Linked DNA regions of Homo sapiens: regions 2, 3, 4, 5, 6 and 7 are each linked to region 1. The links are contacts of gene promoters, found by promoter capture Hi-C in blood cells and fetal thymus (Javierre and others, 2016). All regions are on one chromosome and are shown on one strand. Each heading gives the region's core, a stretch centred on a gene start or on the middle of the fragment in contact. The rest is flanking DNA. Distances are from core to core; before and after follow the strand shown.

The links. Contacts are between HindIII fragments. The CHiCAGO score rates a contact against its expected background, and 5 or more counts as called.
Region 2: a fragment that was not itself captured here is called in contact with the fragment with the promoter of RASA1 in region 1 in 2 of 17 cell types (M0 macrophages and M2 macrophages); the score reaches 6.3 in M0 macrophages.
Region 3: a contact is called between a fragment that was not itself captured here and the fragment with the promoter of RASA1 in region 1, in 1 of 17 cell types (M2 macrophages). The highest score is 7.1, in M2 macrophages.
Region 4: a fragment that was not itself captured here is called in contact with the fragment with the promoter of RASA1 in region 1 in 1 of 17 cell types (M0 macrophages); the score reaches 6.1 in M0 macrophages.
Region 5: a fragment that was not itself captured here is called in contact with the fragment with the promoter of RASA1 in region 1 in 1 of 17 cell types (total B cells); the score reaches 5.8 in total B cells.
Region 6: a contact is called between a fragment that was not itself captured here and the fragment with the promoter of RASA1 in region 1, in 2 of 17 cell types (naive CD8 T cells and naive B cells). The highest score is 6.7, in naive CD8 T cells.
Region 7: a fragment that was not itself captured here is called in contact with the fragment with the promoter of RASA1 in region 1 in 1 of 17 cell types (non-activated CD4 T cells); the score reaches 6.9 in non-activated CD4 T cells.

Annotation. Positions count from the first base shown.
Region 1 is chr5:87,265,263-87,269,132 of GRCh38, forward strand. RASA1 (RAS p21 protein activator 1) reads left to right here and starts at 2,621. Exons shown (of 25, transcript NM_002890.3): 1 at 2,621-3,728. The coding sequence starts at 3,190. RefSeq lists enhancers at 2,350-2,644, 2,698-3,585, 3,343-3,392 and silencers at 2,393-2,642, 2,983-3,162. The HindIII fragment of the contact is 5,594 bases long and covers 1-3,870 here.
Region 2 is chr5:88,845,712-88,849,581 of GRCh38, forward strand. All of the region lies in intron 1 of MEF2C (myocyte enhancer factor 2C), which reads right to left. Among named protein-coding and RNA genes, the nearest start is that of MEF2C, 36 kb to the right of the region's middle. The HindIII fragment of the contact is 4,623 bases long and covers 1-3,870 here.
Region 3 is chr5:88,817,914-88,821,783 of GRCh38, forward strand. The region is part of intron 2 of MEF2C (myocyte enhancer factor 2C); the gene reads right to left. Among named protein-coding and RNA genes, the nearest start is that of MEF2C, 63 kb to the right of the region's middle. RefSeq lists enhancers at 1,763-1,812, 3,579-3,678. The HindIII fragment of the contact is 439 bases long and covers 1,857-2,295 here.
Region 4 is chr5:88,786,801-88,790,670 of GRCh38, forward strand. All of the region lies in intron 3 of MEF2C (myocyte enhancer factor 2C), which reads right to left. Among named protein-coding and RNA genes, the nearest start is that of GSCAR, 92 kb to the left of the region's middle. The HindIII fragment of the contact is 4,308 bases long and covers 1-3,870 here.
Region 5 is chr5:88,747,992-88,751,861 of GRCh38, forward strand. It overlaps MEF2C (myocyte enhancer factor 2C), which reads right to left. Exons shown (of 11, transcript NM_002397.5): 5 at 3,866-3,870; 6 at 1,079-1,126. Among named protein-coding and RNA genes, the nearest start is that of GSCAR, 53 kb to the left of the region's middle. The HindIII fragment of the contact is 1,940 bases long and covers 859-2,798 here.
Region 6 is chr5:88,670,815-88,674,684 of GRCh38, forward strand. MIR9-2HG (MIR9-2 host gene) reads right to left here. Exons shown (of 4, transcript NR_152235.1): 2 at 222-271. Among named protein-coding and RNA genes, the nearest start is that of MEF2C-AS2, 3.5 kb to the right of the region's middle. RefSeq lists enhancers at 851-1,463, 1,464-2,077. The HindIII fragment of the contact is 7,016 bases long and covers 1-3,870 here.
Region 7 is chr5:88,273,493-88,277,362 of GRCh38, forward strand. The region is part of intron 2 of TMEM161B-DT (TMEM161B divergent transcript); the gene reads left to right. It also overlaps the pseudogene RNA5SP187. Among named protein-coding and RNA genes, the nearest start is that of TMEM161B-DT, 6.5 kb to the left of the region's middle. The HindIII fragment of the contact is 2,104 bases long and covers 927-3,030 here.

The DNA of each region.
Region 1 (3,870 bases), core at 1,371-3,870:
TCCCTTTGTTAACTGGGCAGAAAGTTAAGGTGGGTAGAAAAGAAAGGCAATGGACAAAAATTAAGTAGAAACATTAAATCCTTTTGGAAAAAATGAAAATAAAGATAGACAACGTATTTGAGATTCAGAAAGTACACAAGCAATAGTAAAGATTAGAGCCTAGATCTATCCAATAATAGGAATATATTAAATATCTGAAAATACCTCATAAAAATATGTGGCAATTTCTTTGGAGGAAAAGAACAGGGCTAACTCTAAGGCTAAACAAAAACTAGGTAAGATATTGGTATAAGGCTGATTTACAAATAGACATAGTAGTTATTTCCTACTGGTTAAGAAATTGATTTCCAAAGATGGGAGCTGATCAAATTTGGTATTTGTTAAAAGGATGAAGATCTGTTCAAAGTAGCATACTGAGGTTGCCTAGGACTGGGCTAGGCAGTAGAATAGACCACAGGTTGTATTTGCAGTACAGTTTTGTAGGTACATACACCTAAAAGTCTAGAAAACATTTAATTGAGCATTTGATAGGTGTTAGACTGCATTAAATATTGACCTTTACAAGTGCTAAAGAATTGTCAAAAAGGAGGAGGTAATTCTGCAGTAAGAGTAGTGAGCCTCACCTGGACTCCCAGGCAACATACAGAGGGTGTGTGAACATTTAGAAATCAGTGATAACCAAGAGCCGGTGATAACCTGCCAGTTCAATGTCCTGCATTCAAGGGCTGACAGTGGTGACTGGGACAGGAATGTTGGAGGATTGGGATGCTAACACACTGGAGGTTTTCAAGCACAGGCTATATTAAGATTTGTTGGGATTGTTGCACTTGGTGTTCACACAGCAGACAGTAAGTAGAGTAGGTATTTTGATAGTCTTGTCTAACTGAGGGTCTAAGTTTAAAAGAAAACTGTTCTCAGGGAGGCCACCATAAGTAGTACTTCATTATTAAGTATTATGGAACTACTTCATTCTCATTTCTAGAACAGCACAGAGCTTGGCAACTCAAAACCCGCCTATTTTACCTACCCACCTAATGAATGACATTTATTATTTCTTTCAGAACCGTTTTTAGGTATTGCATACCTCCTTCTTGATTAGTATACTATACATTAATATAGTGGTTCTCAAACTTAAGTGTGCAAACAATCACTTGGAGGGTTTGTTAAAATGGATCGCTGCATATTTTCTGATTCAGAAGGTCTGAGGTGGCATTTCTGAATTCCTAGGATGTTGCGGCCTGAATTCACTTTGAGAACTCTAGCTCCTGTGACTGGTCCATCTTCCTTCTCCCAGGTAGCACACTGCTAAGAGATATGCGTAATGGAGGCCCCAGGACTACTCCTAATCAAGTTGGATTGTTGTCATTGACTAGGTAAATAGGCCTGTGCAAACTTACAAAGGCAATGCATTGCCTGTATCTTGTCACGTCTTTTAGTGGTCTTTTCTCTTTTTCCTGGGTTTCTATCACAGCCACTTGCCATCCTGAGTGTTAGTTTGATCATCCTTAGCACAGAAAATATTGATCTCAAAGATCAATATCCAATGGTATTTAATGTGGGATCACTCCTGGGAGAATTTAACAATATTGTTAATTTCAAACCATGGGAAGCTCCCTCTACATGAATGCATAGTTTGTATACATTTTAGTGTAAAAGACAAAATAACACCCTTCTCCTTAATTGTATTAAAAATGAGTTTTCAGTTTATTGCTACTTTTGAAACGATATATAATTATAACTAGCATTCTGGGACATTCTTGACATTTGACTTGTTGAAGGTGCTTGCATTGTGGATCACGTCCTGCAGTCTTTTGCACACAAACCAGGACAAAAGTGCATTGATTAGTGTTTTCTGTGGCACCTCCTCCTCTTCATCAGTATCCAACAGACTTATAATGGCATAGGTAAGTATATGAGACAGTTGATAAAGAAAAACGTATGCAAATACTGGTAGAAATCTTACTTCATAACCACTATTTCTACTCAAATTCTTCACCCTTCTCATATGGTGCCCTTTATTTCGTTTTGGAGTTTCAGAATCTATTTTAACTGTGTGTGTGTGAGATAGTCATAGTGATTTATAGCATGCAACGAAAAAGAAAACATTAATAGTACTGCCCCGATCTTCAAAGCTACCTGACCCCTGCCCGGTTTCTGCGCTGCTGGTTAAGGCTGTTTTTTCCACTGGTCAGGAAGTACGGAACTAGTTTCTGGGCATTTTCCTTTCCCTTTCCCCCTCCTTCCTCTCCACCGCCTCCTGGTCCCCCTCTGGTCTCTCCGGCTTTAACAGCGCCAAGCACCCGCGTGCTCAGGTACCCTTCCCTCTTCTCCCGCCCATCAAACAAAGCCCCGGGAGACAGGCGCGCGCCGCCGGCCACGCCAACAGGAGATGCGGCCGCGCCGCCACACGCTTGGAACCGGAGGAGGACAGCAAGCGCGACCACGCACCGCGCGTCCCCGCCGCTTCCTTCCCTCTGGACTCTTCCTTTTCCTCCCGGCCCGGCCCCCCGCCCCCGCTCCGGGAACGCGCCTGCGCACAAGCTGCCCTCTCCCTTCTCCGCCCTTCCTTCCCTCCGTCCCTCCTCCCCTGCCCCGCCTTCCTTTCTCTCTCTCCCGTTTCACTCACTGAGAGCTCCAGGTAGTGAGCAGTTCAGTCGATTTCCTCGTTACCCCGCCCCCCTTTCTCTTGCCCCCCCACCCCTCTCATCTGCCTGGTGGAGGATGAAGCGGCTGCAGTGGCCCCAGCCTCAGCAGCGGCACCGGCGGTGGCTGCGGTGTGGGTGGCCGGAACTGGGGTGGTGAAGAAGCGGTGGTGGCGGCTGAAGGAGCGGTAGCAGCCTCAGCCTCTTTCCCTGTGCTTCCTTTCCTCTTTAGTGCAGCGAGGAAGTTTTCGCTTCTGTACATGTGTTTGTGTGCGTGAGTGTGGGTGTGTGCGGTGAGGTTTGGGTGGCGTTTGTGCAGGCGTTGGGTTTTTTGCCCACTTGGCTTCCCGTAACCCAGGCAGCTGGGGAGCCTGGGCTGTGGCCCTAGGAGGGGGCGCGGCGGCGGGCTCTCTCCTTTTGTTGTTGTTTCCTCAGCCTGGGGAGCTGAAGGGGAGACGCGTCTGGGTGGGGCTGCTCGGAGCCCGGGCCTGGTGGCCCCTGGGGCTCCCGGGCGGGCAGGGTAGGGCAGAGTAGAGCGGGCTTCAACATGATGGCGGCCGAGGCCGGCAGTGAGGAGGGCGGCCCGGTAACAGCCGGAGCTGGAGGAGGCGGCGCGGCAGCGGGCTCCAGTGCCTATCCCGCAGTGTGTCGGGTGAAGATACCCGCGGCCCTGCCTGTGGCAGCCGCCCCCTATCCTGGGCTGGTGGAGACCGGAGTGGCTGGAACTCTGGGTGGCGGAGCCGCTTTGGGGTCAGAGTTCCTAGGAGCCGGGTCTGTGGCAGGGGCACTGGGGGGAGCTGGACTGACAGGGGGAGGTACTGCTGCTGGCGTAGCTGGTGCTGCTGCTGGCGTGGCCGGTGCTGCTGTTGCTGGACCTAGTGGAGACATGGCTCTCACCAAACTGCCCACTTCGTTGCTTGCTGAGACTCTCGGGCCAGGCGGCGGTTTTCCCCCTCTGCCCCCTCCCCCTTACCTGCCCCCTTTGGGGGCGGGCCTCGGGACAGTGGACGAAGGTGACTCTCTGGATGGACCAGAATACGAGGAGGAAGAGGTGGCCATACCGTTGACCGCTCCTCCAACTAACCAGTAAGTTAAGACTGCTGTTCAGGAATTTGGGAAGCTGGCTCCAGAAAAGAAGTGGAAATGAAGGGGTAAATCATACTTTGTCCTTTTCATCTGTGGTTTGTTAGGAAAAGTTTTTGAAGTTTCAGGTTTCTTGGGTAGGAAT
Region 2 (3,870 bases), core at 954-3,453, 1.6 Mb after region 1:
AATTTTAAATGGTAATAACACTAACTTATGGTGCAGAAAACTTTTGTTTTTTGAGATGGAGTCTCGCTCTGTCGCCAGGCTGGAGTACAGCTCACTGCAACCTCCACCTCCTGGGTTCAAGTGATTCTCCTGCCTCAGCCTCCCAAGTAGCTGAGACTACAGGTGCACGCCACAACACCCAGCTAATTTTGGTGCTGATAATTTTTATAAAATACATAATAAAAGATTTTTCTTAACATTGAATTTTCAGCCTATATCTTCTTGATATGTACTTTCAGCTTATTAGAACTTTGTTAAAAGTGGTATAACATTCAATTACATATTTACTCCTATAATAAAAATAATATATACTTCAAGTCTTTTTTTTTTTTTTTGAGATGCATTCTAGCTCTGTTGCCCAGGCTGGAGTGCGGTGGCGCAATCTCAGCCCACTGCAACCTCCACCTCCCGGGTTCATGCGATTCTCCTTGCCTTAGCCTCCTGGTAGCTGGGACTACGGGTGCCCGCCACCACGCCAGGCTAATTTTTGTATTTTTGGTAGAGATAGGGTTTCACCATGTTGATCAGGCTGGTCTTGAAGTCCTGACCTCAGATGATCCACCCACCTCTGCCTCCCAAAGTGATGGAATTACAGGCGTGAGCCACCATGCCTGGCCTACTTCAACACTTTACGAAAGTGCTACAAATATATGGCATTTCCCTATAATGACAGAAAAATGACAGCAGCAATACCATGTAGTAAACTGTCATTTCAGAGAGCAAAAGGAAAAAGAAAATCATTACAAAAATCACTCTGTAATGTCTTTGTTAGCATAAAAGAAAATTAAGCAGTAAAGTTCCAAGGAGAAATCTCTTTGTGCTCAACATGGTAGAAATATCATTCAAACACAGTTTATCCCTGCAGGGAGATTACCTGTAATGCCGCCAAGGTCACTGTCAAGTTGTATTAATGGCCATATTCAGTATGTCAGTCACATGAGTTGGAGCTGCCTTCTTCTTTTTTCTACTGCATAATGACCAGCCTCTAAATGTACACTGACAAACTGAGGTGAGTGAATATGTTTTTCCAAAATATAGATGGAAGAGTTTCATTCCACCAACTCTTCTATTTTAATTGTACCAAACACGTGGAATGGATATAGTCTGGCAGGAAAGAGGTTTTAAATATTCTACTTTGAAAATTGAACCATTTTTGAAATGGCACCTTGAATCTTAAAGGGAATTATTTGTGGCTGCATTGTGAATTTTCTTTCAAATGTACATTTGCTTATATTGCTGCAAAAGCACAAAATATTTTTTAAATGCAGGAATGACGTCTTTTTATATCAAAAATGTCACTGGAACATGGAGTTAGCAACAGAATGATTTAGTATTCAATAGTTAAGCTCTATTGCGGATTTGTAATTTTCATTTATCAACATTATTCATCATTTACAGAAGAAATGTGAGAGTGTAGACATATTGGCTTTTGAATACATCTACTGACTAGAGAGTAGCAGTCATATTTATGTAGAGTAAAAACAGATTAACACATCTTCTTTACAGGACTTATATTTAAATAGAATAAATCACACCCTGAAAGAATAAATGATATTCTAGTATGTTATAATAAGACTTGCTCGTAGGAGACATCTCTATTAAAAATTTATCACTTTAGCCCTAGAATACCAATGTAGTCCTAGTTTTGAGATTAGCAATCTATTATAATATCTGGAAATTTAGCAATTTCAATTTTCAATTTGCTATCAGAACTCAGCACTGATTTCTTTGTTTCACTTACATACTTTAATTCACCAAAACATTATTGAAATGACTGGGAAAGAAAGAAGACATGAAGAAGCACTTCCCTGCTTACATCAGCTGACCTGGACAATATTTTAAGACTATATTTAGAAAAAGATAAAAAGAGCTGAGTACAGCGACAATTCTCTGTGCCAACTTCCTCTATTACCACTTTTCTTTTCTTTTTTTTCACTTAGTAACTTGACTATAAAACACATGTTAAAAAAAAGGGAGAGAGAATAATCCCAGGACCTCTAGATAGAATTTTAACATGTGAATCTGGTACATAAAATTAGGATACAACATCAGACACCAATCTATACCTTTCATATGAGACCACCATTTCTATTTTGTTTATCTCATTTATATTTACACAATTTTTGGTAATGACTTGGATCACAAATGCATTCAAAGTTCCTCACATTTGAATTTGAACACAAACAATGATTATCTAAATTACAAAAGTTAGAGTCAAATAAATTCCACTTATAAAGTACATAACTAAAAAGTGGGAATACACAAAGTGCAAATAAACTTCATTCAGCACGCTTACAACTATGCTTACAACTAGCGATTGGGCATAAAATGTAACTAAAAATCCATATATAATATTTTAGCTGAGATTTTAAATCTTTAATTGTCATAACTTTTAAAAAGATGATATAGAATAATTTGCCATTTAAAAAAACTCCTCAAAGGTAAAGAGCAGAAAGACATTGTGGAGAGAATCTGCTGGATTTAAAAACTTAATAATGATCTGTATTTGAAAGACCAAAGTTATAGTGGCCAAAACCATTTTAGTAGAGGATAATAAAGCTAGTTCCAGAAAAATGGTTGAATGGCTACAACTTTCTAGTTATGTAACATCTCTTATTTTATAGAATATTGGGTAATCTTACACGGATGAAAAATTACATCCTTAAGGTAAAAACTCCCATTTTCACACATTTCTATCTCTCTACATAGTAATGATAATAGGCAATATGCTAAGTGCTTTATGCATATTATTTAATTCTTATAATTATTCTAGTCATAATAAGGTAGATAAGCTGAGGCACATTTTGAAATCTTCAGTAGTATAACTTCTCACTCCACACTGTTAACTAGTGATTTGCAACTGGGGTAAGCACATTATAAAAATGGGCACACTGATGAAAATTAAGTTTGGATTTTGGTAAAAAAATTGACACTCCTGGGGATACAAATTCCATTTGCCTATGTCATTCTTCTCTGTGAAAGAGTTAAAAGATTTTCTATACTAATGAATAAGGTATTTAGAGTTCTTAACGGGTGATGTAGAAGTAAGTAGTATGTGTTCTTGGATGACACAAAGATTCTTCAATATTGGAAAATACTTCTTAAAATAATATTATTGTGAGCCAGGCGTGGTGGCTAACGCATGTAATCCCAGCACTTTGGGATGCCGAGGCAGGTGGATCACAAGGTCAGGAGTTCGAGACCAGCCTGACCAACATGGTGAAACCCCGTCTCTACTAAAAATACAAAAATTCGCCGGGCATGGTGGCGCCTGCCTGTAATCCCAGCTACTCAGGAGGCTGACGCAGGAGAATCGCTTGAACCCGGGAGGCAGAGGTTGCAGTGAGCCGAGATCGCGCCAGTGCACTCCAGATTGGGCAACAGAGTGAGACTTTGTCTCAAAAAAAAAAAAAAAAAAAAATTCTTGTGCCAAATACTTTAAAATATTTTAAAGTATTTTTAATTTACTTGTTTCTAAATAATTTAATTTGAAAATAAAAAGCATTCATAAATCCACATGCTCCAACTGCTTAACCCTTAAAATTCACATATCTAAGAGCCAGCACACATGATTTTGGCTAATCTGTTGAATTCTATGGGAAATATCTCTTCTTTGTCCTGCAAAGATTGCAAAACTTATTTGTTAAAAATAAATAAATAATAAGGTCATATGCACATAATATATATACAGAGAATGAGTGTGATATTTGACTAACATGCAATGTTATCTAAGACTCAATTTAAAAATCTACAATAAAAGTTTGAACATATTTATTCTATTTAATCTGTGTCTTAAGTGTTTAACTTTGTATCAATCACATTCATGATTGG
Region 3 (3,870 bases), core at 826-3,325, 1.6 Mb after region 1:
AACAGATTTCTAAATATATTGTTTGTAGAAAGAGTCATATAAGGACAATATTCATTTAAAAACTGTTAAAGGACCCAAAATTACAGCTAAATAAGACAAATGCATTCAAGTGTTCTATCCCACCAAAGGATGACTACAGTTAATATATCTTACAGTTTGAAATAGCTAGAAGGAGGATATTGGAGGTTTCCAAGACAAAGAAATGATAAATGTTTGAGATGATGGATATGCTAACTACCCTGATTTGATCACTATACATTATACATATTAAAACATCACTGTGCACCCTATGAATACGTACAATTATTTGTTAATTTAAAAAATTTTAAACACAAAAGAAATGAAACAAGCACCCCCAAAACCATCTGTTCATAAAAACCAGTTTGTTGTTGAACTTTTTAAACCTTTGCATATATATGTTACTGTAAAATACAATAAAAGTGTCACAGAAAAAAATCTGTTTCAGGAGCATGATTAAAAATTGGTACCATGTGAAAGAGGGTAAGACTGCCTAACTGATGGAGGTATTTCAAGGGTAAAAAAAAAATGCCGACGGAGAGACTGAAACTGTAGTGTTAGCATAAGCTAGAAGCTGGTAGTGATAAAAATGGTGAGGAGTAGTTAAAAATAATTTGGTCAGTAACATATATTTGAAAACAGGTCCCACAAGCATAACATTTAGGAAACGACTTCTCCCCATCCTTGTCATAAATCCTCTGCAAACGTCCTGTGTGATCTTTCCTTCTTGTCCACAAACTATCCTCTCTGCATCAGCTCACTCCTGCTCTGGTATCATTCTCTAGCCCCTTGTTGGCTTCTGAAGGCTCCTTTGTGCTCCTGCTCTACCTGTTCCACTTTTCCATCCATCTCCTCAATACCCTTTTAAAATAAAACCCTCATGAAATGAAGGTTTAGGTAACATTCTTTATTGTGCTACACAGTACAAGAGTTGTTTTGATAGAAATCACATTAACTATAATAGCTAATGGTTCAAAGAGCCTGAGTCTTAATAGGAATAGCTAATAGGTAAATTTATTGAGCACTTATTATTTGGTGGGTGCTTTACATTTATTGCTTCATTTAATTGTCTTAAAGACCTAATGAGAAAGGTACTAACTTTTTTTCATCCTCACTCTAGTGATGAGGGTACTGCTGAAGCTCAGAGGGTCTAAGTAACTTGCTAGAGGGTCACATAGCTAGTAAGTGGCAGAACTGGGACAAGAACGAAGTTTGTGTGTCTCTAAAAACTATGCCTCTTAGCCATTTGATTATACTGGATGCAGTATAATTGGGAAAAGTAATGACACAAAACCATGCTCTTAGTTATTATATTACACTAGATGCATCATGACATAATTTTAAAAAGCATAATTTGTTTCGTGTTGAATATGAGAGATCCGGGCTCAGATCTTGGTCACTTCCCAGTTTTAACTGTACAATCTTGAGCCAGTTATTTAGAACTTAACAGGACCTTCAAAGCTTTGCGATATCTGGGTCCTGTCTAACATCCAATCTTTTCTCTCATTTCTCTACAGTCATACACCAGGCTTAAGTCCCACTGATCTTCCTTCAGCTCCTCAGTCAAGCTCTTTCCTCTCTTAAGGAACTTTGCAAATACTGCTTCTGGAATGCTGTCACCTGCCTAACTCTGAATCATCTTTTAGCTCATCTTTTAGCACTTCCTCAGGCCTTTCTCCAACCCTGATGTAAATAAAGTACCTCCTATTATTCTTTCATAGCACATATAAGTGAAATTTTTGTTATATATTTTTATATTTCATGTCTGTTTAACTCAATCAGGGGTCCATAAACTGTAGCCTACAAGTGAAATCCAAACGCCCTGTTTTTGTCAGTAAAGCTTTATTGGAGCACAGCCACACAGGTTCATTTACATACTGCATACGGCTTTCAGACTACTAGGGCAGAGCTGAGTAGTTGAGACAAAAACTATATGGCTCACAAGGCTAAAAATATTTGCTATGTGGTCCTTTACAGGAAAGCTCGCTGAACCCCTAAAGCAGAGGATAAGCTGGATGAGATTCTTGTTCACCACTGAATACTTGGTGTTAGGTACACTGCAGTCTAGTAATATTTGTTGATTTCACAGATAAATGAATTATTCAGCCATAAAATGGGACTTATTAATAAAAATTATTTGTAATTATATATATATATATAGTTCTTGGCACATAATTGGTAACTACTTTTATTAGGTTGTCTGAAAATTTCTGTAAGATAAATTAACAATTCATAATGTTATTTTTACATACTTGCTTAAGAAATCCATGTTGTCTAAGCTTGAAACTAAGAAAGAAATAGTTTTTGTAAACTTGGAAATGCCAAAAAATTTTTTTAAATAAAAAAGCTGTCAATTTTTATTCTCACCTAAACTATTTTACGTATTGATGTTTCTGAATTTGAGCTGTCAATTTTTATTCTCACCTAAACTATTTCATGTATTGATGTTTCTGAATTTGAGCTGTTCCCTACTTCCATTATGAAAGACAGCTAAAGTAAAGGTAAAATTCAATTTAAACAGCCATTCTATTTCACAACAGTTTTATTTCTTAATGATATACAACTTATAACATCAGTGCTGTAATATTTCATTTCACACTTGAAGTCAGTATTTCTTTTTCTGGAAAAAACATAACTTATTCTGTGTATAGCTAAATAAACAAGTGCAATGGCAGAGCAGTCTTTGACAACTTTTAAGAAAAGATGACAGTGAGCCATTGCATGAGGTTCTACTGGACAGTCTACAGTGGGGCAGCTTCAAAGAGGGCAAAGCATTTTTCTTTGCAACATGTGAATACACAGTTGAAAGAAAGCCCAGGTTACGGGTGCCTCTACACAGTATGATATGCTGTTTCGGATTTGCTGGTTTTGTTTATTAGAAGTGACCTACATAATTTAGGCTCTTTCCCAAATGACTCTTACAACTGCTCTCATAGTAGGTGAGAGGTGCACAAGACAAGCATTTATATGTAAGATGTTTGAAATTGTCAACAGCCTCTAAAATAATCACTGAAATATATATTAAAACATGGTGGATTTCAAGTTTACTAATTCTGTTTAAAAGTATTGAACTTACAGGCCTACTGTATCTAAAGACTGGAGAAAAGAATAAATATACCCTAAATTCTAAAGAATAAAATCAAGAAATCTGTCTTCAGAATTTAAAAAAATGATAAGTCAAACTAAGCTGAATTTAAATAAGTTTTCTTCTTCTAAAGTTATTATGACTTCTAACCTGGATGAGGGTAACAGCCACTGTAGCTGCAACTATATATAAAAAAAGAAAAGATATTCAATTATTAGCTCAAAAGTGCGACATTAAGATTCTTTGTTTGTTTGTTTTTTGTTTTTTTGAGACAGGGTCTCACTCTGTTGCCCAGGTTGAAGTGTAGTAGTAACATGATCACGGCTCACTGCAGTTTTGACATCTCGGGTCCTAGTGGTCCCCAAGTGGTTGGGAACACAGGTGCATGCCACTACCACACCCAGTTAATTTTTTTTTAACTTTTTAAAATAAGAGATTGCATCTCCTTATGTTGCCCAGGCTGGTCTTGAACTCCTGGGCTCCAGTGATCTGCATCTCAAAGTGTTGGGATTACAAGCATGAACTACCACTCCCGGCTTTAAAATTATTGTATCCCTAGAAATCCTGTCATTTGTTACAACATGAGTGAAACTAACTGGAGGACATTATGTTAAGTGAAATAAGCCAGGCACAGAAGGACACATTTTGCATGTTCTCACTCGTGTGGGAGCTAAACTTTTTTTTTTTAAAAATTGAACTCACTGAGATAGAGAGTAGACTGATGGTTACTATAGGCTGGGAAGGGTAGCTGGGCATGGAGTGGGGAG
Region 4 (3,870 bases), core at 638-3,137, 1.5 Mb after region 1:
ATATCAAATTATTCTACTTATTCAAGGCCATGCCTTCATCTGAAATCTACAGTAAGATTTTTCAGGTGCTCACAGTTGTAACTGCTTTCCTTCTCCTCTGTTAGCCCACTGTACTTTGTCTATATCTTATTATGGTTCAGATAATTGGGTATCATAATCACAGATGCATCACCAGTAACTGGCAGAATGCTTAGCAAATGATCTTCATGTCCATCAATATCTACTGAATGAGAGAACAAATACTGTGTATATTCTGTCCACCATGGACTGCTACTGGCCCTGGAGGGCCGTGAACACCATACTTTGCACATACACTTAATAAATACTTGTGGAAAAGAAAAAAAAAATCAATTCGTTGACCTTTGTTAGATCTTCTTAATTTATGTAAAATGCTACAGTTATTTATATAATCATTCAATATTTACTTATAAATAATACACTTATTAGCATAAACTATGCAGTCGTAAATTAAGAATTTTTGTCTTTCTTTTGGTTAGCATTTTTTCTTCTCTGAACTTTTTCTCTTGACTTTGAAAATAAAACTAATTTTTTAAAACTTAAGGGTTGACAATGGGCTCTGACAGCTGTTATAACCTGCAATCCTCATGACAGCCCCGTAAGGAGCTCAGGGTAGACAGCATTAACTCATGAGGAACCTAAAGCCCAGCAAGGTTACATAACTCGCCCTCCGTTAGAGAATGAGAGTGTGTGATGTTGCTGTAACTGGAACTGAATTTTTAATCTCCATCTTTCCTTCAAATTTGTGGAGCTTTTAAAGTCCTATATCCTAGAAGTAAAATTTGAAAGATGAACTCTCATAACAATGCTTCAACAATATTCTTTAGAAAAATCACTTTGTAGCTTTATTTTTCCCCCACATGAAATTAATTCAGAACAACTACAGTTAAGGAAAACCAATCATGGAGTCTGGATGAAGATAAAATTCCGCACATACTAATTAAGAAAAATCAGAAGAAACCGTGTGCACGCATGATCTTTTCTTTCCTGTTGGAAAAGTTCACAAGGGACCTAGCTTATTTCTACGTTCTTACTACTCATTTTTCCTGTGCCTTTTCCATTTTCTCTTCTTCCTCAGGGCAATTCCAGCTTCAGTGATCCCTCCATTTTCTCGTCTTTCTCCACAAAATCACATAGACTTTAACAAATATTCTGTTCCTTGGAGTAAATGCCAACTGAGTGATTCAACTTTCCTGGTTGGATTTCTCTGCCCTGGCTCAGGTCCTGACTGACGCACAGTGGGCATGTCATAAATGCCTGCTGCAGGAATGGAAGGTGAAGTAGCCAGGTGCAACCTCTCCAGTTTACATATCCTTTATTGGGCTGTATCTATTAACCATCATGCCAGTTTGTTTGTTTGTTTATTTATTTATTTATTTATTTATTTATTTAGAGACTGTGTCTCGCTCTGTCACCCAGGCTGGAGTGCTGGAGTGCAGTGGCACAATCTCAGTTTACTGCAACCTCCGCCTCCCGGGCTCAAGCAATTCTCCTGCTTCATCCTCCCGAGTAGCTGGGATTACAAGCGTGTGCCATCACGCCTGGCTAATTTTTTTTTTTTTTGTATTTTTAGTAGAGATGAGGTTTCACCATGTAGGCCAGGCTGGTCTTGAACTCCTGACTTCAAATGATCCGCCTGCCTCGGCCTCCCAAAGTGCTGGGATTACAGGCATGAGCCACCTCGGCCAGCCCATGCCAGTTATTTGAATGAAAGAGAACACTAGATGCACCAGTTTCGTCATTTACTGTCCAACAGAGGGTTTCTTTCATAATGGACAATTATATTTGGGAGCCACTAGTCACATCTTGCTTGAAATGTGGATAGTGAGACTGAAAAGCTGAACTTTTAATTTTATGTAATTTAAATTATATTTATATTTGTATAGCCACATGTGGCTAGGCTACCTTACAGATTAATGCAGATCTATGTCTTTTCATCTGAAGTCTGGTTATATTATCCAAAGAAAATTTACATGACACAAATGAGTTTATAATTGTCATAGTATAGGTGCTAAATATACCATTTATTTACAAATGTGTACAGTAACTTTCAAAGGGGTTGGGTTTCTGGAACTAACCACAGAGTCAATCAATAAACTTATGTCCTATTGAAATAACTGAGAGTGAAGTTGGCTTTAGATTAGTAGTAGCTCATGCATAGGGTAACTTTGGTCTATTTTTCTATGAAATGGTTTCCTCCTTGACATCATAGTGATGGAACTTGTTTATGATTAAATAGTAATATGCACACTTTTATTTTTGAAAAATAAAGTAATTCAGAAATTATAAAATAAGTTACTATTATTAAAATAAGTTACTATTATTAATTCATATATCTACTTTTTTGTAATACTTTTTTTTTTTTTGAGATAGAGTCTTGCTCTGTCACTCAGGCTGGGGTACAGTGGCATGATCACAGCTCACTGGAGCCTCAACCTCTCATGCTCAGGTGATTCTCTGACCTCAGTCTCCTGCGTAGCTAGGAGTACAGGTATGCACCACCACATCCAGCTAATTTATTTTTATTTTTGTAGAGTTGGAGTCTCTGTATGTTGCCCAGGCTGGTCTTGAACTCCTAGGCTCAAGTAATCCTCCTGTCTCAGCCTCCCAAAGTGCTGGGATTACAGGTGTGAGCCACCATGCCTGCTATAACTATTTTTTTTTTTAATGTGAGGAAAAAACCCAAACACCCATTGTGTAGTTTTACTGTTTACAACGTTTCTTACCCTAGAACAGTAGCTCTAAATAGTTATTCAGTTTATTTACTAAAACATAAAGATAAGAGATTTAATTGATATGAAGAGGTTTTCAGAATCTAATTAACCTTCCAGCTAGTCATTAACTCTATGACCTTTAGAAATAATTGACAGAGAATTTTTTTTCTTATTCATAACTTCTTCCAGGTGGTTAAATTTCAGAGTAGTGCAGAATACACTAAACACCATTGAGACATGACTGGATAATATGCCAAATAGCTATAAAATGGGGTATATTTCCAATAATATAATCTATTTACTTAATCTGTTGTACACATATGCAGCATTTACCTAATTACAGTCCTTTTAATGACTGACTTTGATTAAGTCTTTTCCCAGAATGTCCTATTGATTATTTTGACCAAGAAAATAATGAAAAAGTTATGGGTACTACTATCTCTCTGCACCCAAGGCACATGCCCCTAACCAATCACATCACACTTCCTGAATGTCTGGACTTGGACTCAGCATCTTCCTTAACTGTGTGCTCCAGGCAGCCAGTACAAAGTGATGGGCACACACTAAGGAGTGAAATGTGCCAGAGTCCCACCTCACTGGGTAGTGATGTGCCTTTTATGAATGTATCACACTTCCAGAAAAACCTAAGACACTTCCTTTCAAGAATTAGTTTCACAGAATTTCAGTTGTAAGAACCTGTTTTATAGCATGATTCTAACCCTCCATAAAATTACAAAGAGGAAATAGTCTACAGACACACTTTCAAATTCCATGAAGAAGGAAATACATGTTTGGAAAAGGAAATCTAGATCCTTTCTACTCCAGCAGCATCAGCATCACCTGGTCAGAAATAAAGGGATCCTGGGCCCTGCCCTATACCCACTGAGTTAGAATCAGCATTTTAGCAAGATACTCTGGTGATTCACACTGGGCCACAGGCATTTCATTTGACCCAATACTGGCCAAAGCACTAACAGGTTTCTTCTCTCTTCTCCAGTAATCAAAATACTGTACCTTGGTCTGGAAGTCCTTTCCTTTCCACCAGCACCACAAGCAATACTTTTACTTGGTTTCCTGTGCCTTGTAATTTAATTATTTATTTATTTTTGATGCAAAACAACATTTACTCACTCTAGCT
Region 5 (3,870 bases), core at 579-3,078, 1.5 Mb after region 1:
TCAAAAGATATATAAAATAGGAAGCTAGTGTTATTCATCTTGTTTGCTAATCACTGTGTAGGTCTAATACTTTTTCTTCATTATTCAGTGAATTAGTGAAGAGCCAGCATCAGAACAGAGAAACTCTACCCTCAAATAGATATATTTATAAAAATGTATTTGTAAACCAATTTTCTTTATCTTCTTTCTTATAATTAGCAGGCTATTCTACTTGACCCTGGCAAAATATTTTAATTAGGCTATCCATGTCTATTTCAATAAACTTGATTTTTTTTGACATTTCAAACATAACCTTGTGTCATTCATGCCTGCCTCCTACTATTTTAAATGTATAGCATGTTCCAGCTGCAGAAATTACCATGGTTACTTGTTATGCCAATAGTGAACTGCAGTTGGCATTTGAAAGTATTGTGCTATCTTGCCTCTGCATTGAAAATGACATCGATATCTCAATAATCTCAATATTACAAATTAACACGGAAACCTGGAGAAATGTGACTGAGACAATTATTGGTCACAGTGTAAGAAGTTCTTAGCTGAAATATATTTTAGGGTCTTTTGGGGATGCATTATATTCATGTTGTCTAAGAGCTCATTTTAATGCCAATGTGATTTTATTTTATTAACAGTATTGTTGAATAATTAAAATCTTAACCCCTCCTTTTCTTTATGTACTCTTCTTTAGAAATGCATAGAAGTTCAATACTTCTTTGGCTGGAAAATGATTCATATTTAATGTGAAATGATTAACAGAGAACACAAAAAGTATGGTTTGCTAAAGGTACTCTTGTGTCCAAGGATGGTATCCAGGATTAAGTTGATTGGATCAGAGCCCTTAATTCTCTGCTGACCAGTTGAAGCTTTATTAAGGAAGGTTCTAGTTAATAAATAGTTTTCTTCTAAGTTACTATTTAACCACTCCTGCTTCAGAAAAGTGCTTTAAAAATTCTTGGTGTCATTTTTCCATGCCTCTCACAGATCTCTTAACTTTATTTGTTCAAAAGACTTTGTCCTGCAAATCACCTAGTAGAAGAACTCAGAACAATGATACATACTGCAGTATGGAGTCTGGGCTTACCTGCACTGGTGCCTGCACCAGACGTGAGGTCTCCACCCATCAGACCACCTATGGATTAAAGAGGAAGATCAAAACGAGAAAGGCTAAAGGCCCACAGAACAAAACACTTTACCTTCAGCAACCTCAGTATTTTGTCCTCTTGCAATAGTCATAAACTTGTAAAGTACAACCCAAGTCAGATGGCTGACATTTGTTTTATTGTGCCATGCTGTGCTCAAACGTTAAAAATACATTCAATCACTGACATTTTGCAGAATCTTTTTTCTAAGAAAGTTACATTTAAAAAAATCCAGTCTTTGGTCTCTGCATTTTTATTATTTCTAAGTCTAGGTTTTCCCTAAGCAGATGTTTTATAGAAAGTGAAAGAAAGAGTAAGGTCTACTATATGCTCAGATGACCTCACATTTGATGTTTAGTTCTTTGTAAATATGTTTTATGCCATTAATTTTGTGCAATGTTAATTGTCCAGAAATTTGATCGTTTCATGAATCTACCCACATTTACTACTAAAATCTTATTGACTGACACAATATAACAAATTTTTCACCGGCCACAGATTAAGAAACATATGCTTATTCATTGCTAACTTTAGACAGTATGTTAAAATTTGGCAATGTTTATTTATGAGAGTCAAGATGTTTCAATAAGGTATTGAACATAAAAATTACTTTTAGTTTTGGGCCTGGCGCGGTGGCTCATGCCTGTAATCCCAGCACTTTGGGAGGCCCAGGTGGGCGGATCACGAGGTCAGGAGATAGAGACCATCCTGGCTAACACGGTGAAACCCTGTCTCTACTAAAAATACAAAAAATTAGCCGGGCGTGGTGGCGGGTGCCTGTGGTCCCAGCTACTCGGGAGGCTGAGGCAGGAGAATGGCGTGAACCTGGGAGGCAGAGCTTGCAGTGAGCCGAGATGGTGCCACTGCACTCCAGCCTGGGCAACACAGCGAGACTCCGTCTCAAAAAAAAAAAAATTACTTTTAGTTTTGAAAAAAACAACATTCAGCCAAAAGAATAATAGTGAGAATATCATCTAGATTTTCTAATTGCCTCTAAGTGATACTCTGTAATTATTAGTTGGTTCAGGTTTTGGAATTAAAAGAAAATGTTTGTTTATATATATACATATATATACACGATTTTTTTTTTTTTTTGAGACAGAGCTTGCTCTGTTGCCCAGGCTGGAGTATAGTGGCAGTAATATGGCTCACTGCAGCCTCAACCTCCCAGGCTCAAGTGGTCCTCCCACCCCAGCCTCTCGAGTAGCCGGGACCACATACACAAGCCACTGTACCTAGTTAATTTAAAAAAAAAATGTTTGTAGAGATGGGGTTTCTCTATGTTGCCCAGGCTGGTCTTGAATTCCTGGGCTCAAGCAATCCTCCCACCTCAGCCTCCTAAAGTGTTGAGATTACAGGCGTGACCCACTGCATCTGGCCTTCGTTACAGTTTAAGCAAATGTTTATTATTTCCAATCAGATAATATTTTGGAAATACCGTATCAAATTCAAAAAAATGAGCATGAGTTTATCAAATAGGAAAGTGAACTGCATTCTAGTATGATCTGAAAGGAATACATGTGGTTACTGAAAATTCATACGAAAATTTTCAAATATATTCAAAAGTCAAGAGAATGGCTCAATGAAGTCCTTTGTATACATTTCCCAGACTCAAGATTAAAATTTTTTATTTGGATGAATTTAACTGTATTTTCTATATAAAGCTTCTGTAACAAAAATAGTAATACATGTTTGGTTTTAATTGTAAGGCAGATATATAAGTATTCTACAGGAAAATTCCTCCATGAATAAACTATTTTCATACAGCTATGTGTATGTAGGATACATTAAAAATTTCCTATAGAGTACTTTTAAAAATATGAAATGCAAATATATAATGGTTTGCTGTATGTGACTTAGAAATACAATTATTTTTGATGCTGCTTCTGGAAACATAAAGGAATAATTTTGTTATATTCAATACGCATTGACTTGGTTCCTACTGTTAGTTTAGCAAATCAAGAGAACATTCTTCCCTTAAATGTTCTTTAAATCCAGTATCAAAATAGACATATATTAAATACAATTCATCATAATGTATTTTGATTGTTCTAAGTACTAAGAATGGATGAACTTTTTCTGAGAAATAATTTATTTTTCTCTTGGACACTGTGAATTGAACAACAGCAAGTAAAAGTGCAGAGACAAATTTGTGGCAGGTGTACATGTGTTTAATTAACTTCATTTCTGATTCAGCTTTGTTTTTATTTCACATGTCTTACAAATGATGCTATCTTATCATATTTCCTTTCTGCCTAAGTCCTTTGTGGGATAAGTTACTGTATAAATAAAAAAAAATTGACCCAAATAATAAATAACTAAATGGGATAAATACTATCACAGAACACAGGGGAAGGTTTCACAGAAGTGGTAGCTTGGCCAGGAGGAAGAGGGAAAATGGCATTTTAGGCAGGGAGGACGAGCAGAAGTAAAAGTGTGGAGAAAGGATATCTGACATCCTGTTTGAGAGTATGTGGTTAAAATATAGCCACAGGAGGAGATAGGTGACAGAATGAAAAAGATAAACGGCAGATTATGAAAGATTTCGAAAAACATACTAAAGAATTTAGGCTCTATCATGCAGGAGACCTAGCTCGGGGGTGGATGGTAAGCCATGAAGGAGAGTAAGTGGAAAACCAGAAAACATCTCGTAGATAAAGCAGTGTTGGCTTTGCCGAAAATGGTTCCTTCCAACTATTTGTTAGCATTACATCCTTATGAGGACATACCTGTG
Region 6 (3,870 bases), core at 534-3,033, 1.4 Mb after region 1:
TCTGTATCTTGAATTTCTTTTTTATAGGCAGTTACAGGTTATATTTGTATTATGCTTGATATATAATATACAAAGGCTCCCTGTAGAGGAGAAGGCTGCACATATAGAAACTTAGAGCATGAATTAGGAGATATGCAACCCACTGCATGCCTACCGCCTAGTAAATAATACTCTATTTTGTACATCACTTGGATTTTATCAAATGTAAATTTTAAAATTACCTTTGGTTGGTTGGATTGTCTATTCATTTTATGCTTCTTTGCAGTCTCATCTGAAAAATAGTCAAGAAAACAAATGATCACAGTTTATATATATGTATACATATGAAGTCATATAGATATTGCTTCATTTAAAATATTGCTATTAACATGATTCCTTAAAATGCCAGAGATTCCATAAAACCCCAGTACAATGTATCCTAGGTCTCAGCACCCACGGGGTTAAATATGCTAATTTGCATTCAAATGGAGACATGCATGATAATGTGAATGCAAAATATGCAGAATCTGGAGGGGTTTGAGAAATTAATTTTTCTTTCTTCTTTTCTTTTATTTTTAGCTTGGAAGGAAGAGGGACTCTTAAAAAAACATTAGGGACTTGAACCTTGTAACCTGCCATACAAAAGAGGAGAGTCCTTCCATGTAAGGATTTTAAGTCTGGAACAAAGTCTTATTTTCTAAATGTTTAAGGAACTGAATTTCCAGGCCTTTCGAACAATGGCAATCCCTGGATAAATATCTACTCCATTAGAAAGATGCAAATAGTTTACTGTAAGGCCACAGCACCGTGAGATGTGCATTCATATCTATGGCTCCTGATTGGCTCTTTCCTCCAGTAAATCAATGAATAATGTAAAACCTGATTGCTGTAAAGTGGTGGATTTTTGAAAATTTCCCTTCCCCCATTCCCTCTCGATCCAACATTCAGGAATTCAATACTCCCCAAAATAGGTTGTTTTTCTTTTATGATTTTTTAATGCTTATTGTTATTTTGGACTGGAGGGGTGGGGCTATTGGTTTTGCAAAATGAAAGTATTGCCCTGGTTTAATTATGCTGACTGTGGGAGCTCGCTTCCTGAGACAGCGCCCTAATTACCGGTGCCAAGGTGGAGAAAGGAGGGTGGTAGACAGAGGTGGACACCAAGAAAGGGAGGAAACGGAACCCGACTCTGCGGTGCTGGGCCCAAGGCAGCCACAGCTCCAAAGGGGCCCCCGGCCGTGGCCGTGACTTGACAGAGCCTCCGGTCTAACTTCTGATCAATTCCACTGCTCTCCTGACCCCTCAAGACAGTCCCCCATTCAAGCACCGCGGGTACATTTGCAAGATAAAACGCCGCAGACACTAATGCAAATACATTGCCCGAGTTCCCATCACCCTGGGTTCCTGCAGATAATTCCAGGCCACAGAAAGGAGTTCTTGCCTTCCTCAGCCGGGTCTAGACTCTAAGCAAACCGCAAAGACCTAGCTCCGTTTGGATACCAGAAGCGTCTTAAGCTGAACCGCTCCAAGTACCAATAACTAACCATGATGGTTGCATCTTGATGAATCTGAACTTGGGATAACCCTGTAAAGCGGCCTCTCACCTCCCAAAATTCAAAAGGCAAAGAGAAAAGGGAAGTGGAAAGCCACCAGATCTACTTAGCTACTGTACTAAGTTTTCCACCAAAATCTAATCAGACCCTCGCTTCCTTGCCAGGTAATTGCAACTTTGGGGCGGTTAAAGGGAGGCGAATTCTTCAAAATGCGAATTCGAATACAGAAGTGCAAAATACAAGTGCATTTTGCTCTAGGTTTAAAAGGGAAAAGCCCCCCCAAACACACCACCACCACCACCACCACAAAATTACATACAAAAATTCCCTTTTCCAACGCGAAGATTTCCTGGCATCTCTCTGCGATTGGGGGTCAAGCCGCTGGATAATTAACAGTACTGGCTAAGAAAACTCACGAGATCAACAGGTTTAACATCCGAGGCACACAATCAATTAGCTGAAGCAAAGCCCCGGACTGGCCCTCGGAGCGGCCCGCAGCGGGACTCTGCGGGCACCGGCTAGCGGGCGAGGTGAGGAGTGCGGGCGCGGGGCCGCGGCGGGCACTGCTGGCCTCGCGCCGCGGGCGAGCTGCAGCCTGAGGGCCGCCACGATACTCACTTGATCTCCCTGCGCCAGGCAATGCTGCCCCCCAAATCCAGCTGGGCAGGAACCGAGGCGCCGGCTGAAAGACAAGATCCAAAGTCACAGCACGGCCGCAGCACACAAACAGGCTTCTTTCGGCGTCTCCAAAAAAAAAAAAAAAAATGTTTTTCTCATCATTCCTCTCCCCTGCTCAACACATTTAAAACTGCCGCTCAATTCCACATGGTGATTCTTGGTTGATTGCGTCTAAAATAGTTTAAATGGGTCTTCCCTTCTGGGGAGAGGGAGAAGGGCGCAAAAGACCAAGGAGTAAAAAAAAAGCCAACTTTTACCCCCCATGCCAGGCACTTGCTCCCTGAGCCTCGGAGTGGAGAGTGAAGTGGTGTGTGCGAGGCTTGGCAAGTTTTTGGGGGGGCTGTCCAAGGTCTAGTCCAGCCCCCTCTGCCGAGGAGGACGTGCTCTGAAACTCAACCAATTTCCCCACTGCTTTTGTTACTGATGAACTGAAGCCCTATTGTTCATCCATTGCCACGGTCTTTTTCAGTCCCCACACTACGTTCTGCGTTGCCAGAGATAATGAATTTGCACCCAAACCTCTCATAGTCCCCTCCTGACAGACGGAACAAATTAGAAATGTCTCGTCTGAAGGAAGGCAATGGCTACATTTTCCTATTGTAGGATGCAAAGCACACATTTCTTTGGAAACTTCTTTTGCTTTTTTCTTTTTTTTAAAATCCTTTTCTTCTCTTTTTCTTTTTTCCTCCAGTTTTTTTTTCTCTCTCTTGGTTTCTTAAGATTCTTCTTTTTTTTTTATTACAGAATCTCCCTGTCGTTTTTCCAATGCACTGTTTTATGTAACTTGTGAGTCTTCCTAACCTTCTTCCCCTTCTTTCCTCTCCTTTCTTAAGGACTCCCTTTGCAATTTTATTTACAAACTTGGAGAATGACCTTTTGACTCGCAGACTTTTTTTTTTTTAAAGGTCTTTTGGTTCAAGTCCCCCTTCTTCACTCCTCCCCGTTTGTGTCGTGGTTGTTAAATGTGTTTAGCTAAAGACAAGCAATGCATTCTAAAGAATTTTATTCTCTAAACTCTAGAGGTATTCTAAATGTACCAGGGACGCGCCATAGGGGTCATCTATTTGAGGAGGAAGAAAAAGCGGGTGTGTGTGTGTGTGTGTGTGTGTGTGTGTGTGCGCGCGCGCGCGCGCGTCTGCCTTCCACGGAAAGAGAGACGGAGAGATGTGGGAGGGTGGGGGTGGAAGTATGCAGACAGAGAAGGGTGGGGGCTTCGAGGGGAAGGTGGGCTTCCTGCAACACAAGCGGAGAGGCTGTCAGGGGTGTGGGCACGGGGGTGCGGGGAGGCGGTGCAGGAATCCGTCCCGCCGAGTGCCGTCGGCCCCTGTGGGCCTGTTTGCGCGCCTGGGGCTGGCCGCATTCTGGGCGCGGGTGTCTGCGTGCCGGGGTGGTAGTTCCGAGCCTGCGCGCGTGCGACCGGGTACGGGAGGGGGAAGAGTGCCGTAAAAATTCAGACGAGTGGCCCGTATGTAAATGCAGCCCGCGGGGAGCAGGGAGGCGGTAATGACAGCCGCTGGCGCTCAGCCCCGCCGGCGGCCCCTAGCTTTCCCGCCAAGTGCAGCCGGAGGACAGACAGCCATGCGTGTCCTTGGCGGGAGAGCCCCCACCCGCCGCGCGCGCCCGACCCCCGCGCACACGCACACACTCCCCTCGCAGGCGT
Region 7 (3,870 bases), core at 729-3,228, 1.0 Mb after region 1:
AATAGCAGTAAAAAGACAAAACTGTCTGAAAGTACCTATCTGTTTAAAACTTTAATTAGCTTTATCCATCCATTAAATAGTTATTGAATATAAAACTGTATCATTCACTCTTCTACACTCTGAGGAAATAGTGGTAAATAAAGCAGATATTGTCCCTACTATCAGGAAATTTACATTTTAGTAGTAATAAGCCATAAATTAACAAAAACAGAAGACAGTGGTAAGTACTAGGCATGAAATTCAAACATGACTATTTTAGATTAGGTGATTAAAGAAACTAAAATACCATTTAAGCTGCTGTGTAAATGACAAGAGAATCCAGCTTTGTAAAAATTGGTGAACCCTTTGCTTGCAGAAGGGACAACTGCAAAATCTAAGGCATGATCTAGCCTGGAATATTTCAGGAGCCAAAAGAAGGCCTGCATGGTTAGAGAATAGTGACTTAAGACGCAAATACTGTAACTTTGGAGGGATAGGAAAGGGCTAGATCATGTTACCTTTGAAAGACAGGAAAGAGTTTAGATTTTATTCTATGTGCAATGGAAAAAAAAATGAGAGCATTTTAATCCAAAGAGTAATATAAGATAATATATTTTTAAAATCCACTTTGGTAATTTGTTAATTGGCATAAAGAGTCAGCTTTCATGTAACATAATTACTAACATACTTGGATTTAAATTTGTCATTATTCTTATTTTATTTGTCCCACCTCTTATATGTTCATTTTGTCTTCTTTTGCCTTTTTGATTTTTTTTTTTCTTAATTAGGCCATAGCACCTGATATTCCCAGGCAGACTCTCATCCAAGTGCCAATCAGCCCCAGCCCTGCTTAGCTTCCCAGATCAGATGAGAACAGGCATATTCAGGGTGGTATGGCTATAGACCTTTTAGATTATTTTTAATTATTCCATTTTTTCTACCTCATAAGCTTGACAGATGTCTTTTAGTATCTTTTTACTGTTCACCTCAGGTATTAAAACATGGAACCTTGGTTTATCATCTTTAAGATAATTTGGTATTATACTTCTTCCAGGACAATGTAAGGACCTGCGAACACATCAACTTCATTTACTGCCACACCTCATGTTATATACATTGTATATTCTTAATATGTATTTCCTAAATTCTCAAGACATTTTTTATACAATATGAATTTACATTTCATATTGTATAAAACATTTACTTTTTCTATTGTGTTTCGTGGTTCCTGGAATCTGAGCTTCCATCTAAGACCTTATTTCTTCTTGAAGGACATACTTTAATATTTCTTCGAATATCTACTGGTAACAATTCATTCAGATTTTCTGTCCTGACACTGTCTTATTTTACTTTCATTTTCTAAGAACGTTTTTGCTGAATTAGCAGCTATTTTATCATTTTGAAGATATATTTTATTCCTTCTGGCTTCCATTATGTCCTCTAAGACATAATGTCCATTTTGTTTTTTTCTCTTCAAAGGTAATCTTTTTTTGGATGGCTACTTTTAAGAGGTTTGTCTTAAGTTTGGTGTGCCCACATGTGTTTTGTGTTTGTTTTTTTGTGTGTGTGGTTTTTTTCTGCTTCGAGATTGATAATGTTTCTTGAATCTGGCTGTGATGTCCTTAGGCTGTTTGAGAAAATTCTTAGCTCTGTTTGATCAGACATTGCTTCTGCTTTCACTCTCCTTTCTCCTCTTCTTTTGATACTCCACTTACATTTGTATTTGACAATTCACTTTGTCCCTTGTATTTTCCATTTATTTTCTTGTCTGTTTCATCCTGAATATTTCTTCTTAACTTTCAGTTCACTATTTTCTCTTAGTAGTCTCGAATTTGTTAAATCTCTCTTGAAGCATTTATTTTAGTTATATTTTTGGTTATCAGTTCAAACATTTCTACTTGATTCTGTTTTATTGTTTCCAGTTGTTTATCCAATATCTCAATCTTTTATTTCCTCAAACATACTAATCATAATTACTTTAAAACCTGTATCTAATAACTATGGTGTCTGCTATTATCTGACACTTTTCTTGTTTCTTGCTGTTATCACATTGTCTTGCTTTTATGTCCCTTATTTTTATGTTATTTTGTATTATTTATTTTATAAACATTATAAATATATAAAACTTGGCTTAGGTTATGTTTTAATTGAATGTCAGAATTGTTTTGATTGAACTGTATATGAGGAAACTATACTTTGAAGTCCAATATGATGGTATTTTCTAAAGAAAGAATTTATGTCTCCTGGCAAGACCTTTGGACACTAGTAATCTAAGATCTTCTTAATCTGGTTAGTGATAGAGACAATTAGAATATAGGCAGGTCTATTTCCTGTTCATACTTTCACAATGTAGACCTCTGAAGTCCCAACTCAAGCATGCAGAGTTTACCAGATCAGGCCCTAAACTTCAGTTTTTGTCTTTTTAATTCTATGGGTTAGAAACTCTGTTCAACTTTTCAGCCATCACCTCAGGAATCAGAAGATACTCCAGAGGAAAAGCTAATGTAAATGCTGGATTCAACAACTCTGTTTTTTCCTTCTGAATATTTCATTGTCTCTAATGCTGTCAGATGTTTGTTTTATATTTTGTCCAAGCTGAGTGTGGTGGCTCACGTCTGTAATTTCAGCACCTTGGGAGGCCAAGGCGGGACCATCCCTTGAGGCCAGGAATTTGAGACTAGCCTAGGCAACATAACAAGACCTTTGTCTCTTGGAAAAAAATAAATAAATAAATATTATTAGAAGTGAAAATGGGGATGTTGTTACAAATGCTGTGGAGATTGATGAGAAATTATGAACAACTTAATAATAAATGGGAAAATATAAATGAAGTAGGCAGTTCCAGAAAATGTAACTTTTCAAAAGCCATGTAATGGAAAATATAAATGGTGGGATGTTGATGTAAGAAATCATGATGCCCAGAGACTTTTGCCAAACCTTCAAAGGACAGATCATTACAATTTTACACAAACCATTCCACAGTATATTCCACTTATATACTGTGGAATTGGCCCTTACTGCCCTTATCAAATTTAACATCAAGGTTACAGAAGCTTAATATTACTGCCCTGATTTTATTAGGGCAGTAATGATTTGATAAGGGCAGTAAGAATTACAGCCCTGTCATATTCGCAAAGACAAAAATCCTAAATAAAACAGACCTTAGAAAATGTGTTTTTAAGAAAAGATAATAAAACATGATCAGGTTGAATTTAACCCAGGAATGTATTTTAGTATATTAAGAGATTAGAAAAACTATCTGGCTATCTGAACAGATGCAGGAAAAGAAAACTATTTGAAAAAATTAACAGACATAGATAAACCTTTGGGCAAATTAGAATTGTGTAGAACTTCCTTGAGCCAATAAAACCTACAACAACAATATTTTAAGATGAAGTATTTGAAGCAGTCCATTAGAATCAGGAACAAGTACTATGTTGGAGATCCTAGCCAGCATTATAAGGCAAGAAAAACAAAAGATTAAAAATTGTAAATAAACATAACTTAGTCTACAGATAAATTATTGAAGAGCTTTGCAAGGATTCTGAATATACTATTGATATGGTTTGGATCTGTGTCCCTACCCAAATCTCATGTTGAATTGTAATCCCCAATGTTGGAGGTGAGGCCTGGTGGGAGATTGGATCACGGGAATGGGTTTCTCATTCGTGGTTTAGTACCATCCTCTTGGTACTGTCCTTGAAATAGTTCTTAGGAGATCTGGTAATTTAGAATTGTGTGGTACCTCTCCCCTCTCTCTTGCTCTTGCTCCCCCTTTGCCTTCCACCATGATTGGAAGCTTCCTGAAGCTGCCTCAGAAGCAGAAGCCACTATGCTTCCTGTACAGCTTGCAGAACCATGAGCCAATTAAACCCCTTTTCTTTATAAATT